4 separate regions of the Homo sapiens genome follow, and all the other regions are linked to region 1. Evidence: promoter capture Hi-C in 16 types of primary human blood cells and fetal thymus (Javierre and others, 2016). All regions are on one chromosome and are shown on one strand. Each heading gives the region's core, a stretch centred on a gene start or on the middle of the fragment in contact. The rest is flanking DNA. Distances are from core to core; before and after follow the strand shown.

The links. Contacts are between HindIII fragments. The CHiCAGO score rates a contact against its expected background, and 5 or more counts as called.
Region 2: a fragment that was not itself captured here is called in contact with the fragment with the promoter of PALLD in region 1 in 1 of 17 cell types (endothelial precursors); the score reaches 8.5 in endothelial precursors.
Region 3: a fragment that was not itself captured here is called in contact with the fragment with the promoter of PALLD in region 1 in 1 of 17 cell types (endothelial precursors); the score reaches 5.3 in endothelial precursors.
Region 4: a fragment that was not itself captured here is called in contact with the fragment with the promoter of PALLD in region 1 in 1 of 17 cell types (endothelial precursors); the score reaches 6.6 in endothelial precursors.

The regions. Positions count from the first base shown.
Region 1 is chr4:168,493,433-168,498,983 of GRCh38, forward strand. It overlaps PALLD (palladin, cytoskeletal associated protein), which reads left to right and starts at 3,620. Exons shown (of 22, transcript NM_001166108.2): 1 at 3,620-3,762. All of the region lies in intron 1 of LOC107986198 (a long non-coding RNA gene), which reads right to left. The HindIII fragment of the contact is 1,197 bases long and covers 2,815-4,011 here.
Region 2 is chr4:168,903,657-168,909,292 of GRCh38, forward strand. It overlaps PALLD (palladin, cytoskeletal associated protein), which reads left to right. Exons shown (of 22, transcript NM_001166108.2): 15 at 101-250. It also overlaps a transcript of CBR4 not described here. Among named protein-coding and RNA genes, the nearest start is that of CBR4, 100 kb to the right of the region's middle. The HindIII fragment of the contact is 3,674 bases long and covers 1,970-5,636 here.
Region 3 is chr4:168,192,312-168,197,512 of GRCh38, forward strand. It overlaps LOC105377524 (a long non-coding RNA gene), which reads right to left. Exons shown (of 3, transcript XR_939424.3): 2 at 2,086-2,185. Among named protein-coding and RNA genes, the nearest start is that of ANXA10, 100 kb to the left of the region's middle. The HindIII fragment of the contact is 793 bases long and covers 1,171-1,963 here.
Region 4 is chr4:168,927,982-168,933,311 of GRCh38, forward strand. It overlaps PALLD (palladin, cytoskeletal associated protein), which reads left to right. Exons shown (of 22, transcript NM_001166108.2): 22 at 1-460. It also overlaps a transcript of CBR4 not described here. Among named protein-coding and RNA genes, the nearest start is that of CBR4, 80 kb to the right of the region's middle. RefSeq lists an enhancer at 2,847-3,348. The HindIII fragment of the contact is 2,247 bases long and covers 2,346-4,592 here.

The DNA of each region.
Region 1 (5,551 bases), core at 2,370-4,869:
TTTGTATAACTAAAGGATACTGCGGGAAAGACGAAATATGACCTCCAAGGCTGGATCATAAAAGATATAATGGGGCCGGGCGCGGTGGCTCACACCTGTAATCCCAAAACTATGGGAGGCTGAGGTGGGTGGATCACCTGAGGTCAGGAGTTTGTGACCAGCCTGGCCAACATGGTGAAACCCCATCTCTACTAAAAATACAAAAAAATATCTGGGCGTGGTGGTGGGCACCTGTAATCCCAGCTACTTGGGAGGCTGAGGCAGGAGAATCACTTGAACCCAGGAGGTGGAGGTTGCAGTGAGCTGAGGTCATGCCACTGCACTCCAGCAACAAGAGCAAAACTCCACTTTAAAAAAAAAGACATTGTGGCACAATCCAGCTGCCATGAAGCTAGGAAACTCAGGCAGTGACACAGAGAAGTCAACAGGGTTCCAGCCAATAACAGGACTAACTTTCCAGGCACGTGAGTGAGCTGCCTTGGAAGCAGATTTTCCAGCCCCAGCCATGCTTCCACCTGAAAGAAGCTGGGGCAACATCTTCAGTACTATCTCATGATACCCTGATCTGGAATTACCCAGCTAAGACTAATGGATTCCTGACACATAGAAACTGTGTGAAATAACAAATATATATTGTTTTAAGACATTAATTTTTGCAGTAATTTGTTATGAAGCAGTAGATAAGTTATATCTGATTTTGGAGGTGGAGGAGGTCTGTTTGTGTGATCTGTAAGAGGAACAGAGATGAAGATTCATAGAGAAAAGCAGGTCCAAAACCAATATGCCAACATATAGAATAGACAAATGGGTGCTGAGTCACCCAGAATAATGGCAGGGTGTGGAGTGAAGAAGAGAACCAAGAGCCCAACTAGATCCAAAGTCTTAATTTTAAAAAGTGGGATGGAGGATGGTTGATGCAAATATAAGTGCTTCAAAAGAGCAGGAATTTCTATAAGAAGAAGTAATCATTTGAAAGCTGAACTGGAGCCCCATGAAGGAGCCACAGACTCCCTTTCCCAACCTTCGTGCACACAGAAATGGGCTCTGGTGGAAAATATGAAAGTGCATGAGAAATGATATTACTGTCCACACACTAATCTCATCCTTAATATCAACTGGACCTTGCTATACTAACTTAAGAGTGTTGATCAAACTTTCTAAATTTTTTTGATGCCAATTTTCTAAGGAAAAGAACTTCTTATAAGATTTTTAAAACAAGCTTGGTTTGCTGCACTATTTGCAATACACACACAAAAAGGTCACATTTCTGTGTCCTTTTGAGTAAAGTCATATCCATCTTTGAAGCCTCTCTCAGGACCACAAGCTGTTTTTTTTTCTTTTTTCTTCTTATGGCTTCATCACTTCACTGGTGTTATACCAGGATTTAGGAACCAAGCAATCCAAAGAAATGTGGGAGAGGCCTCGTCTGGCCAGTAGTCCAACATGATTGCCTCTGGAATTCACCATGAGACTCACAGTTCACCAGAAGGCAGAGGCAAAAATCAGAGTTGCCAATTAAAATTATTTCTAAAGATGGGTTCACTGCTTCCTATTCCCAAGCCTTTCTGAGACTCCATGGGGTGAATCACTTGCTTCTTTTCTGTATCTCCTCCTGCAGGCATTTAAGCTTTGTAATTTAGTTACATGCATACTTATATTTATCTCTTTCCAACAATTTTGTTCATTTCTGATATCTTCTATTGTCTTCCCTCCCAATTTCTGCCCTTTTCAGTTTTTACTATTATCTTGTGGTTTTAGGAAAAAGCAGATATAAATATGTGTTTAAGCAATGCTATGGTTTGAAGGTTTTTGTCCCCTTCAAAATTTTTGTTGATTCCTAATCCCCTATGCAACAGTATCAGGAGGTGTAACGTTTAGAAGGTGATTCAGGAGGACTCCTCATGAATGGGATTTGATGCCCTTAGGGCTTGATGGAGGAAGTTTGACCCCCTCTTGCCCTTCCACCTTCTGCCATGTGAGGACACAGTGCTCAAGGCATCACTGTGGAAGCAGAGACAGGAACTTCACCAGACAACAAACCTGCTGGCACCTTGATCTTAGACTTCCCAGCCTCCAGAACTATGAGAAATCAATTTCTGTTCTTTGTAAATTACCCAGTCTGTGGCATTTTGTTATAATGACACAAACTAAGACAATCAATCAGAGTTATATTTCCTTGTAAGTATAAATTTTATTTTTTTATTTTTATTTTTATTTTTTTTAAGAAGGAGTCTCGCTCTGTCACCCAGGCTGGAGTGCAGTGATGGGATCTCGGCTCACTGCAAGCTCCGCCTCCCGGGTTCACACCATTCTCCTGCCTCAGCCTCCCAAGTGGCTGGGACTACAGGCACCCGCCACCACGCCCAGCTAATTTTTTGTATTTTTAGTAGAGAGGGGGTTTCACTGTGTTAGCCAGGATGGTCTCAATCTCCTGACCTCATGATCCACCCACCTCGGCCTCCCAAAGTACTGCAATTACAGGCATAAGCCACCACGCCCAGCCGTAAGTATAAATTTTAAAATCACTTCTTAATTAATATAATAGATGAAATGACCCACAGAAGTATCCACTCACAGAAAGGACCATTTCTAAAGGACCAGTTTGGCCTATAAAGAAAATACAATAGCAGACCTTCACAAATTTTCTAACATCAGAAAAGAAAAAATATTTAGATATTAAACTGAATCAAATGTGATGGTCTTACCCAGACAAAGGAAGACTCAGCACCCCATTTCCAAGTTAACTGGGAGCTTTTGTGTTGCTCTTTTTGCCCCCCTTATATTTGATTCTGCTACCTGACCTTTAAACAGAAAAGCTTTCTCTTCTTGCTATCTATGTTTGTTATTTAAAAGATCAAAATATTAAACTCTTGCTATATCTATTTGTCATTTGAAAGATCAAAATATTAAATGATTGTGAAACATTTTTTGCAACTGTAAGAGGGTTGATACTTTTCCTGAATATTATTCATTCAACATTCATTTATTTCTTTGACAAATATTTAAGAGATGCTCATGATGTCCTAGGCATTGAGCTAAGAACTCAATGTTGCAATGTGGATAAGATCCAGTCCCTGTGTGTTCATACTTATTTAATACTATTATAGACAAGGCCTTTAATACATACCATAGTCATATATCAATTTTTAATTAGCAATATGAAATAAGAGAACAATGGGACTTTCCACTCAATTTGACAGGTGGCTAAATTTTCAGTTACTGAATTTACTATTTTAGGGTAATCTAGCACATGACCAAAATTTAAATGCACAGAACAGAAGATCAGAGTAAGAAGAGCTTCCATTTGGATTATCACTTTTTCTACTTGGAGTCACATACTGTACTTTAAATTGATTAAGAACATGTTAAAGGTCCAGGTGGTGATTTCCAGCTACAAGTCCAAAGTATAGAAGAATGTGTTTAAATCCTACGTTTATCAGATCCATAAATATAGTTCCTTCTATGTTAAGTGGCTTTATTTCTAAGAACCCAGCCCTCGGTCCTGGGGGTGCTTCCCAGCCCGCTGCTGGAATTCCTGATCGTGGCAGTCTGCTGAAACATGAGCTCAGTTACCAAATATAGCTGAGTGGAGTAAGAGGACAGATGAGAGTCTGAGGCCACAGTTGCCTCAAAGTGACCACGGACCAGGCAGTCTCTAATGAATAGGCAAGGCCACAACCTCCATTCTCCCAGAAAAGAAGAAATGCTCATCTGAAATTCATCACCTCTCTGGAGTCTTCAAACTGACCAAGCATTGAAAAGGTCTGTAAGGTGTATCTTAATATACTAACTAGTAGGGCAACATTTTAAGGACTTAAAAAAAAAAAAACTAAAAATACAAAAGTTTTTCTGAAGATATGATACTATTTACAAGATACCTTAATTATTCTTTTGCTTGGAGAGGAAACGTAATGAGAATGTTACGGTTTTGCCAAAAACAGATAATACGTAAGATTTGCCTGCCCACTTCATCTCTGCCTTTGCTGTCAGAGAATTACACTTTCTGTTATAAGCTTAAGCATGCTAAGATGGTGCTATCAATTCCAAAAGGATTAAATGTATTTATGGAGCCAGCTTTTGTCAAGATCGTGTATGTGTTATGTTTCACAGAAAAGGAAAACGCAGCTTTCTAGACCCTCACCCATATTTAAGCTAGATAAGTGATGATGGCTTAAAGTGATAGACCTTAGATTTCAGTAACATTATAAATTGTTAATTACACTTTCAAAAGATTCTAAAAGTAACTCACTGGACATAATTAAATGAGTTGGGATAGTAACAGCAGGTATTTTAAATTATATTCATGCATAAAATTTACATACATATTTTTAATAAGATAACGCTTACTAAGGGAAACCACAGTGCAATCTCGAGTCCAGTCAAGTTTAAACATCACAGAATAATTTTTATCATGTTGTTTTAAGTTGCACATGAAATTGTCTTGAATCCAATATAGGAGGTTGACATAAAATGATTTCAGGCTCATATTACTTATTAACATTTGCTAAAAATACTAATTGCCTTCTAGTATGAATAATGTGGTGACATATAAAGCCATTTCTTGGCAATATAAAACTATTACAAATCTATTCAATCACATATATGCAGAAATTAAATCCTCATTTCATGATAAATGTGCCTTCCAATGTTTTTTCTCACAGAAAGAACTTGAATACTCACCTCAATTATTCAGATTTTTTTTTCAGATTTTTAAAATCAAAGTCTCTTTGACAAGTTATTGCTAACAGCAGAAAAGGCCGATGAGGTTTATCTGGCCACTAACTGCCCTGTAAATACATGATTACACATTCCTAGAATATAAATTAGTCCTCTGGCATCCTAGAATCTGGTATGGATTAGGGTCTGTATCCCAGGGGTTCTGTGTCAGCTCTTCCTCTGGGTTTCTCTGTTATTGCTAGAGCTGAATATTAAAACTGGCCTTATAGCATATTTCACAATAGAATGAGGATCTGGATTGCACTGGACAAGTACAATCACTTTGACCTCCTTACCTCATTTTTTAAAAATGTAGAGGGCAATCATTATTCAGGTTTAAAAATAAATATGACAAGTTCTTTAAGAGATACCAAGTGGAATCTGCAAGGCCCAGACAAGAGCTCCACTTCTTAAACAATATGTGTGTGGAGGCTGTCAAAGGGTATTGCAATTACTGAGCTCCAGTTAGAAATTCAGGCCATCTAGAGTTAATGACTGTGTCCCGGTGAAATTACAGCAAAGAAAACAAAGATTGAACAAAGTATCTTCGACTAAAATTTCTAACTGTTAAATCATATTAGAGAATATAGAAGCAAATTTGGTAAATAGGTTTTGAATTTAAGTGAGAAGAATAAAGCCCTGAATTGGATAATGGTAATGGAAATGGATAATTCAGAAGTAAAATCTAAATATTTGCAATGGACTCAGTATGGTGAATAAAGTTGATAAGATGAACAGGACATGGGATAACTTCAAAAACTCTGTAAAGTATCTTATTTGGCTGTTTCTGCATTAAATGAGCTATTAGATTATGTCCTTGAAATTGAGATTAAAT
Region 2 (5,636 bases), core at 2,557-5,056, 410 kb after region 1:
TCAGATCAGCTCTGCAAACCACACTGTTACTATTTTCAGTTCTCCAAATAGAGTAGGAATACACAAACTCCTAATCTTTAATCTTTGTTTCTATTCACAGATCTATTGGTTTAAAGATGGGAAGCAGATCTCTCCAAAGAGTGATCACTACACCATTCAAAGAGATCTCGATGGGACCTGCTCCCTCCATACCACAGCCTCCACCCTAGATGATGATGGGAATTATACAATTATGGCTGCAAACCCTCAGGTAAAGAAGGGTATAGGTCTGGGCTCAGTTCTGTGTCTAGTGCTTACAGGCATTTGATTAGACAAAGGAACTATTTAAAAGGTGAAGTTAAGAAGTTTCTTTGATTTATGAAACTATTTTTCCAAATTCTACATCCATCTTGGTTTCAGAGGATAGAAAAATTCTTTGTTTCATGAATACTTATTTATTCCATCAGGTGTTATTCTACTCCTTCCACAAATATTATTAAGGGTCTAATATGTACACACTTTCTATGTGGGTGATGGGGTTGCAGTGGTAGACTGGACAAAGTCCTATGGTAAAAAATAAGCAATTAACAAATAATATAACTTCAGGTAGGATTACATGAAGAAAATAAAGGAGAAAAAGAGTGAGTGGCATGCATAGGCTGTATAAGAAAAACTCAACAAAGTAAAATATTTTAAAAGAAACACATCAGTGGGATTTAATGTGCAAATGTAGACAAATGATAATTTTGATAGCATTCAGGTTTATCAGTTTTCATCAAAATGTTTTCTCTTGTATTTGCCTTTAGACTTAGGGTCAAAAAATCAGTTGCCTTCTTAGAATTTAATAGGAGGCTGCTGGGTATCATGTTGCCAGTTCGAGCCTGCAAATTCTTTTTTATTATGTTATACATTTTAGTCACTATGCTGGATATAGGGGATACAAAAATGAGTAAAAAGTTATTTTGTACCTTAAGAGCTCAATGTATGACAGGTAGTTTTACTAAAGTCTGCAAAAGTAGTATAAATAACACACTTTTAAAAAGAAAAAAAAAGGCATGGTAAAATGAGCAGTTTTCTCTAGAAGTCATCTTTTTAGAATCTCTGATCTACTTATATCATTCCATATTATTTCTTTTGAAGAAAATATTTAGCATTAGAAACTATATAAATAATTTTAATGACACTACAAACTTTTAATTAAAGTTTCTGGCCCAGGTGCAGTGGCTCACATCTGTAGTCCCAGCACTTTGGGAGGCTGAGGCAGGTGGATTGCCTCAGCCCCGGAGTTTGAGACCAGCCTGGCCAACATGGCGAAACCCTGTCTCTACTAAAAATACAAAAATTAGCCAGGTGTGGTGGTAGGCACCTGTAATCCCAGCTACTCAGGAGGTTGAAGCATGAGAATCACTTGAACCTGGGATGCGGAGGTTTCAGTGAGCCAAGACTGCACCACTGCACTCCAGCCTGGTTGACAGAGTGAGACTTTGTTTTTTGTTTTGTTGGTTTTTTTTTTTTTTTTTTTTTTTTTTTTTTGAGATGGAATCTCACTCTGTCGCCCAGGCTGGAATGCAGTGGCGCGATCTCGGCTCACTGCAAGCTCCGCCTCCTGCGTTCACACCATTCTCCTGCCTCAGCCTCCCTAGTAGCTGGGACTACAGGCACCCACCATGCCCGGCTAATTTTTTTTTATTTTTAGTAGAGATGGGGTTTCACCATGTTAGCCAGGATGGTCTCGATCTCCTGACCTCGTGATCCGCCCGCCTCGGCCTCCCAAAGTGTTAGCATTACAGGTGTGAGGCACTGCACCCGGCCTGAGACTCTGTTTCTAAATAAATAAATAAATAAAGTTTATTCAAGGTTTATTATATTCTAATATTCCATGGTCATATAAATATATTTTTCTGCAATAATATTAAGATCAGAATGAAAACAGATTATCCAGCTAATCAGGTTGTGATAGAGCACAGCAAACTCTTCACTGTTAATGAAAAGCTTCTATATTAATGCACATTCTTAAAGTTCTAAATGTTTTAATCAATGAATACATGACCATCACCCTGAAAAAGTCTAAATCACTATTAAGAAGTTGCATTTTAATGTTTGTGTTCATATTTGATATATATGAAGAAACAAAAGCGGAACTTGCTTTTTTTTCTTTTTTTTTTTTTTTTTTTTCTTTTTTGAGACGGAATCTTGCTCTGTTGCCCAGGCTGGAGTGCAGTGGCATGATCTTAGCCCACTGCAGTCTCCACCTCCTGGGTTCAAGCAATTCTTCTGCCTCAGCACCACCACGCTCAGCTAATTTTTTGTATTTTTAATAGAGACGGGGTTTCACCTCAGGTGATCCACCTGCCTCGGCCTCTTTTTTCCTTATTATATTTTCAGTGCATTTCCTTGACATTAACAAATTCTAGCTTTTAGTTTAGTTTTCTGCCTGTTTAAGAAAATGGTGGAGAACTGACAAAATCCAAAATTTTTCTTCGTGTTGGGTCATTTATTCCTCTTTTGCCCTAGAAAGGCTGGGGTATATTATGGGATGGAATTATCTGTGGTCCTTACGTATTTGCCAACACTGGGAACCTGCTATTAATTTCAAGACATTTTTCTTAGCATGTTTTAAATTGTTATTGGAATAAGCCATTTTATAGAACAAAAGAACATAAACGTAAAACTGCAATTGTGAGTCCGCTTAGTGTCTTCCTCAAATTATAATAATGCATTTTTACATGTGGAAAAGTTCTCAGTGAGGAAGGACTGACTCAGTGCTCATGGCCAATGGCAGTGTGCAGAGTTTAAGACAGCAGGCCAGCCTTGGGGGTCAGTAGTCTCCAGTCATTTAAACTCTCTTGACAAATTATTATGAAGTCACTAGATGAAGGTGAGCTGCTGAAAATCTCCCTTGGATCATTCCATATTACATACATATAATATCACATTGTACCCCACAAATATATACAATTATAATTTATCAATTAGAATAAAAAAGAAATTTTTGTTTATTCATTTAGAGACAAGGTCTTCCTCAGTCACCCAGGCTGGAGTACAGTGGCATAATCATGGCTCACTGCAGCTTAGAACTCTTGGGCTCAAGCAGTCCTCCCATCTCAGCCTCCCAAAGCACTGGAATTACAAGCGTGAGCCACTGCCATTAGCCAAAAATAAATTTTTAGAAAATAAATGTAATCTTACCCAAAGCCCAATATATAATGCCAAAAAAAAGAAACCCTTGTTAACATAGGAAAAAAAGGAAAGGAAGGAAATAAAAAAGAAATGTTACTACAAATACCAAGATTGTAGGGCAACACCGATGATACTGAAAAAACCTAGGATGAGGCCGGCAGGCCATGCAGTACAGGGGTTATGAGCATGAACTTTGGCATCAGGCAATCTCAGCTGGAATTCTAGCTCTGCCACTCACTACCTGTGTGACCTTAGCAAGTCACTTAACTTCTCTGTGCCTGTTTCCTCCCTCGTAAAATGAGGATGATAATAATAATAATAATAATACAGATTTAAATAGTACATGTAAAAAGCATTCAGTTTACCTGGCACATACTATGCTTTCAATAAATGCTAGTTACTGTCATTATTTTAATTCAGAGACAGTAACTACCCCATCTTAAAGCAACAGGCCTACAACAGAAGCCTGTGGAACCAGATGTAAAGGATCAGTTCTGTGTCTAGGTACTCCGTTCCCACAGTACTGTCAGAAAGTAAGCAAGTCAATTTGGGATGGAATTTCTACCCAGTATGTTGTTGCTGTGTGGTCTTCTGACCTCCTGGCTTTTCCATTTTATCACCTCCATGGGAAAGGACTTAGGCAGCAGATGTGGCTGTGCCACAACTGCCACAGCTGTGGGCTTGGGTGGAGGAGCTGTGAGCTAGAGGACGGCCACACCCATAGCACAGCTGACATCAGCCACACATGAAGCTGGGAAGCTGCTCTCTACTCTCAGCACCCTCAGGGCCAAGAGAAGCCCCAAAAGAGAGTGGTTACTGCCCTTATTCCAGGCCCCAGAATTCTCTGCTTTGCAAATCCCAGGCTGAGCCCCATGGTTAACCCTCTCTGGTTCTTTGCTCTACCCTTTGGAGAGAAGACAAAGCAATGAGAAGTGGACCAAGAACAGCCCTCCTAATAGAATATCCTATCCAACCTGTGATTTCAGCCAAGGGTAAAATAACTACTCTGGGTCTATCAAAAGGAGAAAAAAAAAAGATTCAAAGAACCCAGAGCATCACAGTAAACAGACCAGTTTCTAACACTACCTATTATAGTATTCCAACCAACTCCAAAGATCAGTTGACACTCCCAGCATCTTAAGGGGTAGGGCTAAGAGTCTTCTTTACCTAAATAACCCAAGACAGGCAAAAGGAAGGGAAACTCATGAAGTCTAGGCCTCAGTGTGTAAATGTATATATCCCACTGAAATTGCTGTGAGAGAATTTTGATATTTATGCCACTTAGCAGTAGTAGTATTTGTTCCAAGTTTCTGAGCATGTTGCCTAGTTGATTTTAATTCCAAGAGTAAAACCCCTTCTTTTCTGTCTTGGGGGCTTCAGTAACTGGTATGTCCAAATATGGCAGATATAAGTTCTGTGAGTCATCACTTAAAAATTGGAGTGAACTTCACTATCCATTAGCAAAACAAAGTGGCATTTAAACCATGACCAGTGACACACCATTTTTCTACCTAACTCTTGGCATAAGTTACCATTTGTTGCTGTAAGGATGCCATTCTGGAAATGTTTAATGCTCTTAGAATCTCAGCTTTACAACATCTATTACCGTATATTAAAACTTTTTTCTTATAATTTATGAATTAAGACATGAGTTTAAATAGTCATGTCATAAAAGGTGGTGAAAAAAAAATTCAAAATAGCTAAATCTTTCAAGATATAGTAATCCCAAAAGCATAAAGTGTAGTTGACAGAAAACTGAAGTTGACTCCTTACTTCCTTAATGCCCTTTAGTTACCTTAAATTTTGAAATTTTAAAGTTATTTGAGTTTAGAAAAAAAAGTATTTGGGTTTGAAAGGGAGAATACATGTATGTTTTCTAGTACACTGTAGCCCAGATGAAATGAAATAACCAAGGAAAAGAGGAAGACTAGAGTGGAAAAATTAGTTCAGTAATGAAACACAGACGGTAGAGCTCTCCTGAGCAGTGGAAAATAATTACAGAAAGCAGCCAAGAGAAGGGTGAGAACCAAGGAGGGAGGAAAATATTAAAGTTCAGCAGAATATTTTATAGAATATGATATTTTTCCACCTGGGTTAATCTTTTGGGAATAAGAAAAACATTAGATATTGTTGACTGCATCCAAATTCTACTTGGGATAGAACACACAGCTCTAAACATATACTGGGCTGTGTATCACACTCGATGTGTGTAGCTCAAGCAATTCATAAGAGACCAAAGCAATCACATAGTTTAGCAAAATAATGAGTGACTGTGCAGTTACACCAAAGAGAATGCCAAAATGAGGATCACAAATACAGTTTATTTTAGACTCTAATCCTATCTTTAAGAACAACGACATCTAAACACGAATGTTTTACTTTGTTTTGTTGTGTTGCTAAGTTACTTTGTATTGCACTTGGATTTTGGAATGGCTATTTTGCAGTCTGATGTTTCCTCAAACTGCATTATGTATACA
Region 3 (5,201 bases), core at 317-2,816, 300 kb before region 1:
AAAAAAGCTTCTGCACAGCAAAAGAAACATTCAATAAGTGAAGAGACAACTGCTTGAATAGGAGAAACTGTTTGCAAACTACTCATTCAAAAGGGGGCTGTATCCAGAATATATAAGGAACTCAAACAACTCAACAGTAAAAAACCAATAGTCCCATTAAAAATTGGGCTAAGACATGAATAGACATTTCTCAAGAAGAAATACAAGTGGCCAAGAGGTATATGACAAAATGCTCAAGATCACTAATCATCAGGGAAATGCAAGTCAAAACTACAATGAGATATCACCTCACCTCAGTTACAATGGCTTTTATTTAAAAATCACAAAATAACAGATGCTGGTGAGAATCCAGAGAAAAGGGAACTATTAAACACTGTTGGTGAAATGTAAATTATGCAGCCACTATAAAAAGCAGTGTGGAGATTTCTCAATAAACTAAAAATAGTACTACCACATGATCCAGAAATCCCACTGACAGGTGAAGCCAGTTGGACTTCCTGGGTCAGTGGGGACTTGGAGAACTTTTCTGTTTTACAAGAGGATTGTAAAACGCACCAATCAGCTGGGCGTGGTGGCTCACGCCTGTAATCCCAGCACTTTGGGAGGCCGAGGTGGGCAGATCACAAGGTCAGGAAATCAAGACCATCCTGGCTAACACAGTGAAACCCCGCCTGTACTAAAAATACAAAAATTTAGCTGGGTGCGGTGGCAGGCGCCTGTAGTCCCAGCTACTCGTGAGGCTGAGGCAGGAGAATGGTGTGAACCCGGGAGGTGGAGCTTGCAGTGAGCCAAGATTGCGTCACTGCACTCCAGCCTGGGCGACAGAGTGAGACTCCCTCTCAAAAAAACAAACAAACAAACAAACAAACAAACAAAAACCACACCAATCAGCACTCTGTGGCTAGGATTGTAAAACGCACCGCTCAGCACTCTGTAGCTGGCAAGAGGTTTGTAAAATGCACCAATCAGCACTCTGTAAAGGGATCAATCAGCATCCCATAAAATGGACCAATCAGCAGGATTCTAAAAGTAACCAATCATGGGGAGGACTGAGAAAAGGGCATTCTGATAGGACAGAAACAGGACATGGGAGGGGAAAAATAAGGGAATAAAAGCTGGCCACCCCAGCTAGTAGTCGCAACCTGCTGGGGTCCCCTTCCACGTTGTGGAAGCTTTGTTCTCTTGCTCTTCACAGTAAATCTTGCTGCTGCTCACTCTTTGGGTCTGTGCCACCTTTAAGAGCTGTAACACTTACTGCAAAGGTCTGCGGCTCCATTCTTGAAGTGAGCGAGACCATGAACCCACCAGAAGGAACCAACTCTGGACACACCACTACTGAATATTTATCCAAAGGAAAATAAATCTGTATATCAGAGGGATACCTGCACTCATAGTTATTGTATCACTCTTCACAATAGCAAAGATATGGAATCAACCTAGGTGTCTATCAATAGATGACTCAATAAAGAAAATGTGGCATAAACACACAATAGAATACTAATTGGCCATAGAAGAAGAATAAAATCACGTCATTTGCAGCAACATGAATGGAACTGGAGGTTATTATACTAAGTGAAATAAGTCAGGCACAGAAAGACAAATACCACATCTTCTCATTCATATGTGGGAGTTAAGAAACTTGATCTCATTAACATGGAGAATAAAATGCTAGATACCAGAGAGTGGGAAAGGTGGGTAGGCAGGCGGCTGTATAAAGAGATGTTGGTTAATGGGTATTAACATGCATTTAGATGGAAAAAAATAAGTCCTAATGTTTGGTAGCAGACTATGATGACTACACTTAGCAAGAATATTGTGATAAAACTTGAAATGATACCAAAATATAGAAAGGATAAATATGCAAGGTGACAGATACCCCAAGTACCCTGATGTTGAAACCAACCCAATAGTCCCATATACTGTTCTTTTTGATAAACGTAGAAATTGATCCTTCTGCTCTTAAAGCTTGAAGCTTATATTTGTTTTATCTGAGTTCCTTCCTTTGGACAGGATCTTCAGGCCTCTCAGAAAAGTATCAAAGAACTGAAATTTGCCTCAGAAAAGTATCAAAGGACTGAAACTCACCAGATCACAGCACCAGTTGTCAGACTTCTCATTCATGATGATGGCTTCCTTGCCCCTCCTTAGTTCCTGTTTTCTTATGCATGGTTACATTTCTTCCCTGCTATATAAACCCATAGTTAGTCAGTCAGGGAGATGAATTGGAGACTGAGCTCCCATCTCCTTGGCTGCAGCACCAAGTTAAAGCCTTCTTCCTTGGCAGTACTCATCATCTCAGTGATTGGCTTTCTGTGCAGTGAGCAGTAGGGCCTAGACCAAACCCTTGGTATTGCAGTAACAATGGGACCATTACATATTCTATCCCTGCAACAAACACTCACATATACCCCATAAATATGTAAAATATTATATATCAAGGAAAGAAAAATAATGGGTAACTAGGTAACATGAACAAATTAATTTGCATCACTATGGTAATAATTTTACTATCTATAGCTATATCTTAAAACATCATGTTGTATACCTTACATATATACATTCAAATTTATTTTTTAAAATGGAAGATATATTTCAATAACGTTAGAAAATGAGAAGGGATCAAAATGATAAGACATAAAAATCAATGGAAATGAAAGGAAGTGGCAATTGAGAAAATGAGGAACAATAATAGTATAAGACTAAAAATCCATATTAGCAATTACTTTAAATGTAAATGGTTTAAACACTCCAATCCAAAGGTAGACATTGGCAGAATAGATTAAAAAAATAAACATAATCGAATATATACTGTCTGAAAAGACTCCTTTTAGATCCCAAAGCACAAAGAGGCTGGAAGTAAAATGATGGGAAAAGATATTCTATGCAAACAGCAAATAAAAGAGATTTGGTTTGGCTATACTAATATCAGACAACATAGATTTTCAGTCAGAAACTGTTATAGATTCTGGGGTGACCTGGCAGTGTTGCCACACAGGCATTTTAGTCTCAAGCTGGAGACTGGAGTGCCTGGCCTGGAGTTGGGTAGGGGCCTCCACAGCCAGAACTGTGGAAAGCATCTCAGCAGTAGGTGTTGGAATTGTGTTCTACCCTGTTGCAATCCTGGGGAAAGAGGAGTACTTCTAAAGCTGCAGTTTCTCCTGGACAGTGAGATTTGCAGCCAGGTCAAGTTTAGTAATCTGGAATCAGTCTGCATGTGCCATTTCTTGGTGCCCCAGCCTGCTATCCTGAGATCATGATGCAATGGGGTCCATACCACTCCACTCCCAGGCAGAATTTCAGGCACTTGGAGCATCTATTTGATTGGACGAATAGCCTGAGCCACCCTATCCTTCATAGACACAGATTGTGGTCCAGTCAGGCCCTCTCCACTCCATGCCCATACAGATGTCCATGCATGCAGGGTACCCATTCACCTGCTTCAGCAGCCTGAGCTGCCCCACACTTCCTGGGCATAAATTGTGGTCTAGCATGGCTCTCTGCTCCATGCCTAGGCAAAGCTCCAGGTAGTCAGAGCATCTGCTTGCCTGATTCAGCAGCCCAAGTTGCCTCACCCCTCCTGTGCAGAGATCTTTGTAGAGGGGGGCACTCCTTGCTTCAAACCAAGCAGATCTCCAGGCACTCAGAGGACGATGCTTACCTGGATCAGCAGCCTGACCTGCCCAGTCCTTCCTGTACAGAGATCCTGGTGCATGGAGGCCCTCTTTGCTTCATGCCCAGGCAAATCTCCAGACATTCAGAGCACCCACTCACCTGGTTCAGTAGCCTGAACCACCCCACTGTTCCTGGACATAGATTATGATGCAGTGAGCATCTCCCCACTCTGTCCCCAGGAAGATCTCCAGGAATTCAGAACACCAATTCACCTGTATTACCATCCCAAGCTGCCCCATCCTTCCTATACAGACAACCTGGTGCAGGGGAGGTCCTCTCTGCTCCACATCCAGGTAGATCTCCAGGTACCCAGAGAACCTACTTTCCTCAAATAGGAGCTTAAGCCACCCTCCATCCCCAAGCAGAAAACTTGGGGCCAAGGAGATTTCCCAGCTCCATGCCTAGGCACACCTCTGGGCACCTGCTGGCCACCCACTGGATTCTCTCTTGGCATTGGCGGTGTGCCAGACATTGGGGGATAAGTAGGTGAGCCTGCCTAGTCTGTCCCCATCTATTGTAGCCCCTGCCCCCTGCCTCCAGGGCTGAGCAGGGAACTCAGATAACTGTGCATTTCATGAATCAGCCCTTTGCCTGAGGCAAAGAGAGCCTCTACCAGAAAATAAGGATCAAGTATATACAAAGCTGTGTTGGCTGCAGCTGGCTCTTTTCTATAAGCACCATCTAATATCTTGTAGGCAGAAATGCACAGTCTAATATAAAACCTGCTGAAGGAAGTAAATAAGACTATAGAAGCAAACCCAAAAGACCCTATTCAGCATTCTCTACAGTCACACCCCCTAGGGAGATAGGGAAGAGAAAAGGAAAGAAGAAAACGCAATAATATTATAGGAAAAGAAATAAAACACAAAAAATCCCACCTACACAAAATAATTACAAATATTGGAAGTGCCAGCATCTCCAGATGAAAAAACCCAGTGCAAGAATTCTGGCATCACGAAAATCTGATTGTAGTAACACCACCAAAGAATTGCACTAGCCCTCTAGCAATGGTCACTAGACAAAATGGAAATTAAGAAATGACAATTTAAGAACTGAAAGCATGGATTGCAAGGAACCTTAACGAGATCCAAGACAAAGATAAAAATCAACACACACAAAAAAAAAACCTCTATAGCAACCCAGTAAACAAAGGAAAACATTAACATATTTTTAAAAAATCAATCAGAGCCACTGGAATTGAAAACCTCACTTACGGAATTTCAAAATACAATTGGAAGCTTTAAAGCTTTATTAATAGAATAGATCAAAAGGAAGAAATAATATCACAGCTTGAAGATTGTTTGTTCAAACTGATTGAGTCAAAAAAATTAAGGTAAAATAATTTTTAAAAATGAACAAAGTCTTTGAGACTTTGGGATCCCACACATAATATGGGACTATGTAAACCAACCAAACCTACACATTTTGGCATTTCTGAGAGAGAAGGAGAAAAAAAGTAAACAGCATGAATAACATATTTGAAGGAATAATTCAAAAAAATTTCCCAGCTGGGTGCGGTGGCTCATGCC
Region 4 (5,330 bases), core at 2,219-4,718, 430 kb after region 1:
TTATATCTGTGTACCACCCCATATATTTCATATTACTGTTTCACATGTACAGCTTTCTACTTCTTTGTAAGAACACCAACCAACCAAGGTTTAAGTGATTAATAGGCTTGAGCACCGGGTGGCAGATGTTCTATGCAGTGTGGTTCAAGTTTCTTTGACCGCACTTATATGCATTGCTAATATGGAATTTAAGATACCATACACAGTCTCTCATGGACCTATCTCTATTGTAGAATTATGACTTATGTCTTACTTGCCAAATTTTTCTGAATGTGACCTTTTTTTGCTGATTTGCTGGGTTTGGGATTAACTAGCATTATTTTGCCACCTTTATATTGTATTTATAAAAAAAAAAGTACTATCAATCAATCATACTACTTTGGATTGTTGTGCTGGTGTAATGTGGATTTAACATCAATAAATATTTGACAAATAATAGTTGCAGTTTTGTGAAGCAAAATAAATATTCAGTTTTAGTTTTCTGTTGCTGCCATAACAATTAGCATAAACTTTGAGTGATGTTTGAGGCTTCAGCATCACTCATTTATTACTCACAGTTCTGTAAATCAAGTTCGGGCAGGATGTAGCTGGGTTCTCTGTTCAGGATCTTATAAAGCTAAAATCATTGTATCAGCTGGACTGTATTCTCATCTGGAGCTCAAGATCCTCTTCAAAATTCAAGTGGTTGTGATAGCTCTGTGCAATTGTAGAAGAGACGTCTCCTTTAGTCCCTCAGCCAGGAGCTCTCTCTCTCAGCTCCTGAAGGCCGCCTGTATTCCTTGCCATGTAGCCCGCTCCATCTTCAGGGTTAGTGGTGAGAATCTCCTTCACCTCAGATCCCTCTCACACTTTCTCTTTGTCAAAGGCCCAGTCCCTTTTAAATTACGTCAGGCCCATCCAGATAATCTCCCTTTCTTAAAGTCACCTGACTTTGGGAACCTTAATTACATCTGCAAATCCCTTCAAAGCAGCAGCTAAATCGCCATTTGATTGGAATAACTGAGAGAAGGTGTGTATACACCAGAGGATGGGGATATTAGGGGCCATCTTACAGTTCTGCCTGCCACAGCAATGTACTGTAGGTATGCATGTAAATACACACCAGTGCCATGACGTACAAGGATACATAAAATACAGCAAGATGATATAAATTAAAAGTGAGGGGAAAAGGAAGAAAGTAAGTATAAATGGAACAAGGAATGAGATATTACACACACACACACACCCATATTCATATACACATATAGCATTAATATCTACATAGTTACAACAGACGGACAACATATTTGGGCCTAGGCTTTCCTACTACGGGAAAGAGAAAGCTGGTCATTTATCTAATTCACAGCCTCCATAAGGTGAAAATATTTCATCTTTTACATATGCAATATAATGGAGCTTTGAGGATACATTTGAATTAGACTAGAATTGTGTATTTCACATTGTCTTCTATACCCCATGACTTGCTATGTAGTTTACAAGATTCATTATATATTTTAATGCTGAATTTGTCCTTGATTTTCCCTTTTATGAACATGCATAACATGACAATCCCCTTGGCTTGCTCAGTAGCTACAACCTCCTTTATCATCATGTAAATTTAGTTTGACCCCTTTAAATTATAGAAATACAACTTCTATATTATGGTGGTGAGGAACTTGAGTGTTGGAGTTGGCCAACCAGGATTTGAATCCTAGCTCTTTTGATCATGTGTGACCCATAAGCAAGTTACTTTACCTCCCCAAGCCTCAGTTTCCTTATTTGGAAAATGGAGATTAAAATAGCACCCCTCTCTTTGTGCTGCTGTGAAGATTATATGGGATGATAATTTTGACATGGTACCTGGCACATAGTAAGAGCTCAATAAATTTCAGCTATTATTTTAGTGTAGTTGGAAACTAAAGTAAAATTTCAATTACAAAATGTGTACACACCTAACAAAATTCCACAGATGGTTAAAATTTGTGAACTTGGATGGGAAAAACATTACCCCCTAGCTGAAATTTAGAATTTCCTTCAATTATGAATGTAGGCAACAAAACACAACAGTATAAAATACCTGGGACTGTCCTAGTAAAAATTATATTACAAATATTGAAATATCTTAAAATCCATCTAAATTCAGCATTACTTCAAAATTATGGCAGTTGTTAGAGTTACCAATAGATGTAATTTATAGGCATTTGTATTATAAATTTGTTTTTAATACTTTGATAATTACTTAAAAATAATTTGTTTTATGTATTTTATGCCTCCATGAACATTATTTTGAGAAGGGATCCAGAAGATTTACCAGAGGGTCAAAAAGGCATATGGCACCAAAAAAATTAAGAACCAGGCCCTACAGAAGCTTAAATACGTAGAAAAGGATAAAAAATTTGAGGAAAGCCTAATTTGTCATTAGTAGAAGAAGGAACAAAACTAATTAATTCATACAATGAAATATTACTTACTATTCAGAGTTAAAGGTAAAGAAATGGATTTACTTCTATTGGCAGGGATAAATATGAAAAACAGCATTTGACGAGGAAGGGAAGTTACATAAGAGTGATGTCAGCAAGATGGCTGACTAGAGGTTCCTGGCATTCATCCCCCCAAGAAAGGATCAACAAATGAACAAACAGTTAACATTCAACTGAAGTGTCAAAGGAAGAGCACTGGAGTGCAGTGGGGGTAGCTGCGGTCACTGAAAGTCCAGAAGGCAGCATGGAGACACCTTGTCTCTGCTGCCCATGCCCCTGCATCCCCCAACTCTGACTGGCCTGGAGTCAAGAGGAGAAACTTTCCTTTGCTGGGAAAACGTAAGCAGAGCCCCATCAGCCCCCATTACCACTGCAAACACCTACAATCCTTACTACAGGAGAATTCCACAGTCCTCACAAGCCCTGAACCGACTTTAGAGAGCCACTGTCGATTGCACAGCTGCATTCCTCTGGATTAGGAACATGAGATATGTACTCTCCACCCCTTAGGTGCCTGCTGTGGGGCCCAGTAGCAAATGCACCTCTCCAGCCCAGCGGCTCTGTCATTCCACCAAGCACACATGGGTGGCTGCAATGCCACAACCCTGGAGGCTCAGAACCTGGGCCCAGGATTGGCTGTGACTCTGGTTCTGCACAGCAGGAAAACCAACCATCATTGCCTGAACTTCCAGGCAGAGAAACAGTCTAGCAAATTCTCCCAAAGCATACATACCTACCCTTGAGCTGGCCAAACTGGGCCCCTGAGCTGCTAAGCACCTGACATGCCCTCAGGCCAGAACCAGTACCAGCCTATCTCCTAAGCCTGAGAAACAGCCCAATGCCCCCTACCTCCATGGACATGCCTCCAGGCCTACCCAGTGGAACTGTGCCCAGGCTAGGGTATGAGAAACAGTCCAGTGGGCCCAATCCCAGCATACATGTCCCTAGACCTTCCCAGCAGCCCTGTGCCCATGCCCAGGGCCTGAGAAACAGCTTGGGAGATTAACTTCCAGTAGACACACCCCTGGGCCAGGTGAGCTGTCACATGACCATGCCCAGGGCCTAAGAAAGAGCCCCATGGGGTCAACCCCCATGGACACACCCCCTGGCTGGCTGAGAGGCACACCACTGTCCCAAGCCCAAGAAACAGCCCACTTGGCCCACCTCTGGCAGACACACCCCCAGGCCAAATGAGCATGCCTGTACCCAGGGCCTGAGAAACATCCCTGTGGCCCCAATCCCAGCAAGCAAGACCCCAAGTTGGTTGACACCGTTCACACACATGCCCCCAATTTGAGAAACAATCCAGTGAGCCCACCCCAGCAAAGCTGCACCACCACTGCTACAAATTCTCACAGCCTAGGCCACTGGGCACTTACAAACATCAGCAGACTGGATTACAGCTGAAGAATCTGCACAGACACTACAGTACTGCATCCACCTAGAACCAAAGCCAACACACCCCCCCTAACTGACACTATAAGATCCTCCAATACAAATACGTCTTTCCCTACAAAACCTTTCATCAAATTAGAAGAGGTGACTGTTCTACCAGATGCATAGAAATCAACATCAAGGAACATATCAAACATGAAAAAACAAGAAACCATGATACCTCCAAAAGAACACAATAATGCTCCAGTAACACACCTTAATCATAAGGAAATATGTGAAATGCCATAAAAAGAATTGAAAATAATAATCTTAAGGAAGCTCAGTGAGGTAAAGAGAATATAGCTAAACTGTTCCCTCAAATCAGGAAAGTAATTCATGATTTGAATGAGAAATTCAACAAAGAACATAAAAAAAAAAAACCCAACAGAAATCTTAGAGTTGAAGAATTCAATGAATAAAATAAAAAATGCAATCAAGAGCTTCAACAACAGATTAGACAAAGCAGGGGAAAGAATTTCTGAACTTGGAGGTAGGCCTTTTGAAATAACTCATGCAGACAAAAAAAAAAGAATAAAGAAAGCCTACAGAATGTATGGGACACTGTTAAGTGAACAAATATTTGCATTTTGGAACTCCAGATGGAGAAGAGAAGGAAAAAGGTATAGAAAACAGATTTAATGAAATCACAGCAAAAAACTTCCCAAGTTTTGGAAAAGAGATGAACATCTAGCTCTAAGAAGCTTAAAGTCCCCAAAGAGATTCAACCTAAACAGTTCCTCTCTGAGGCACATTATAGTCAAATTGTCAAAAGTCAAATACAAAGAAAGAATTCTAACAACAGCAAGAGAAAAACGTCAAGTCACATATAAGGGAATACCCATTAGGCCAACAGCAGATAGCAGAAACCTTACAGGCCGGGAAAAAAAGAAATAATATATTCAATGTACTAAAAGAAAAATATTGCCAGTAAAGAATATTGCTTTAATATTCTTTATTAAATATAAGCAAAGCTATTCCTCAGAAATGAAAGAAAATAAAGTCTTTTTCAGATATGCAAAAGCTAAGGGAAGACTAGCCTTACAAGAAACACTCAAGAGAGTTTTAGATCTGGAAGTGAAAAGACAATAACCACCACCATGATGAAAACAAATGAAATTATAAAATTCACTTGTAGAGCTGATATACAAAAGAGAAAGAGAAAGGAATCAAACCTTATCACTACAGAAAACCACTAAGCCACAAAAATAAACAATAAGGAGGATTAAAGAGAAAGGAATATACAACCGGAAAACCATCAATAAAACGACAAGAGTTAAGTCCTCACCTACCAATAAATAACCTTGAATGTAAATAAATTAAATTCCCCAATTAAAAGACGTTGAATGAATGAATGAATAAAAAAACCATGCAACTATATGCTGCCAAATAAAAACTCACCTCACCTGTAAAAGACACACAAAGACTGAAAGTGAAGGG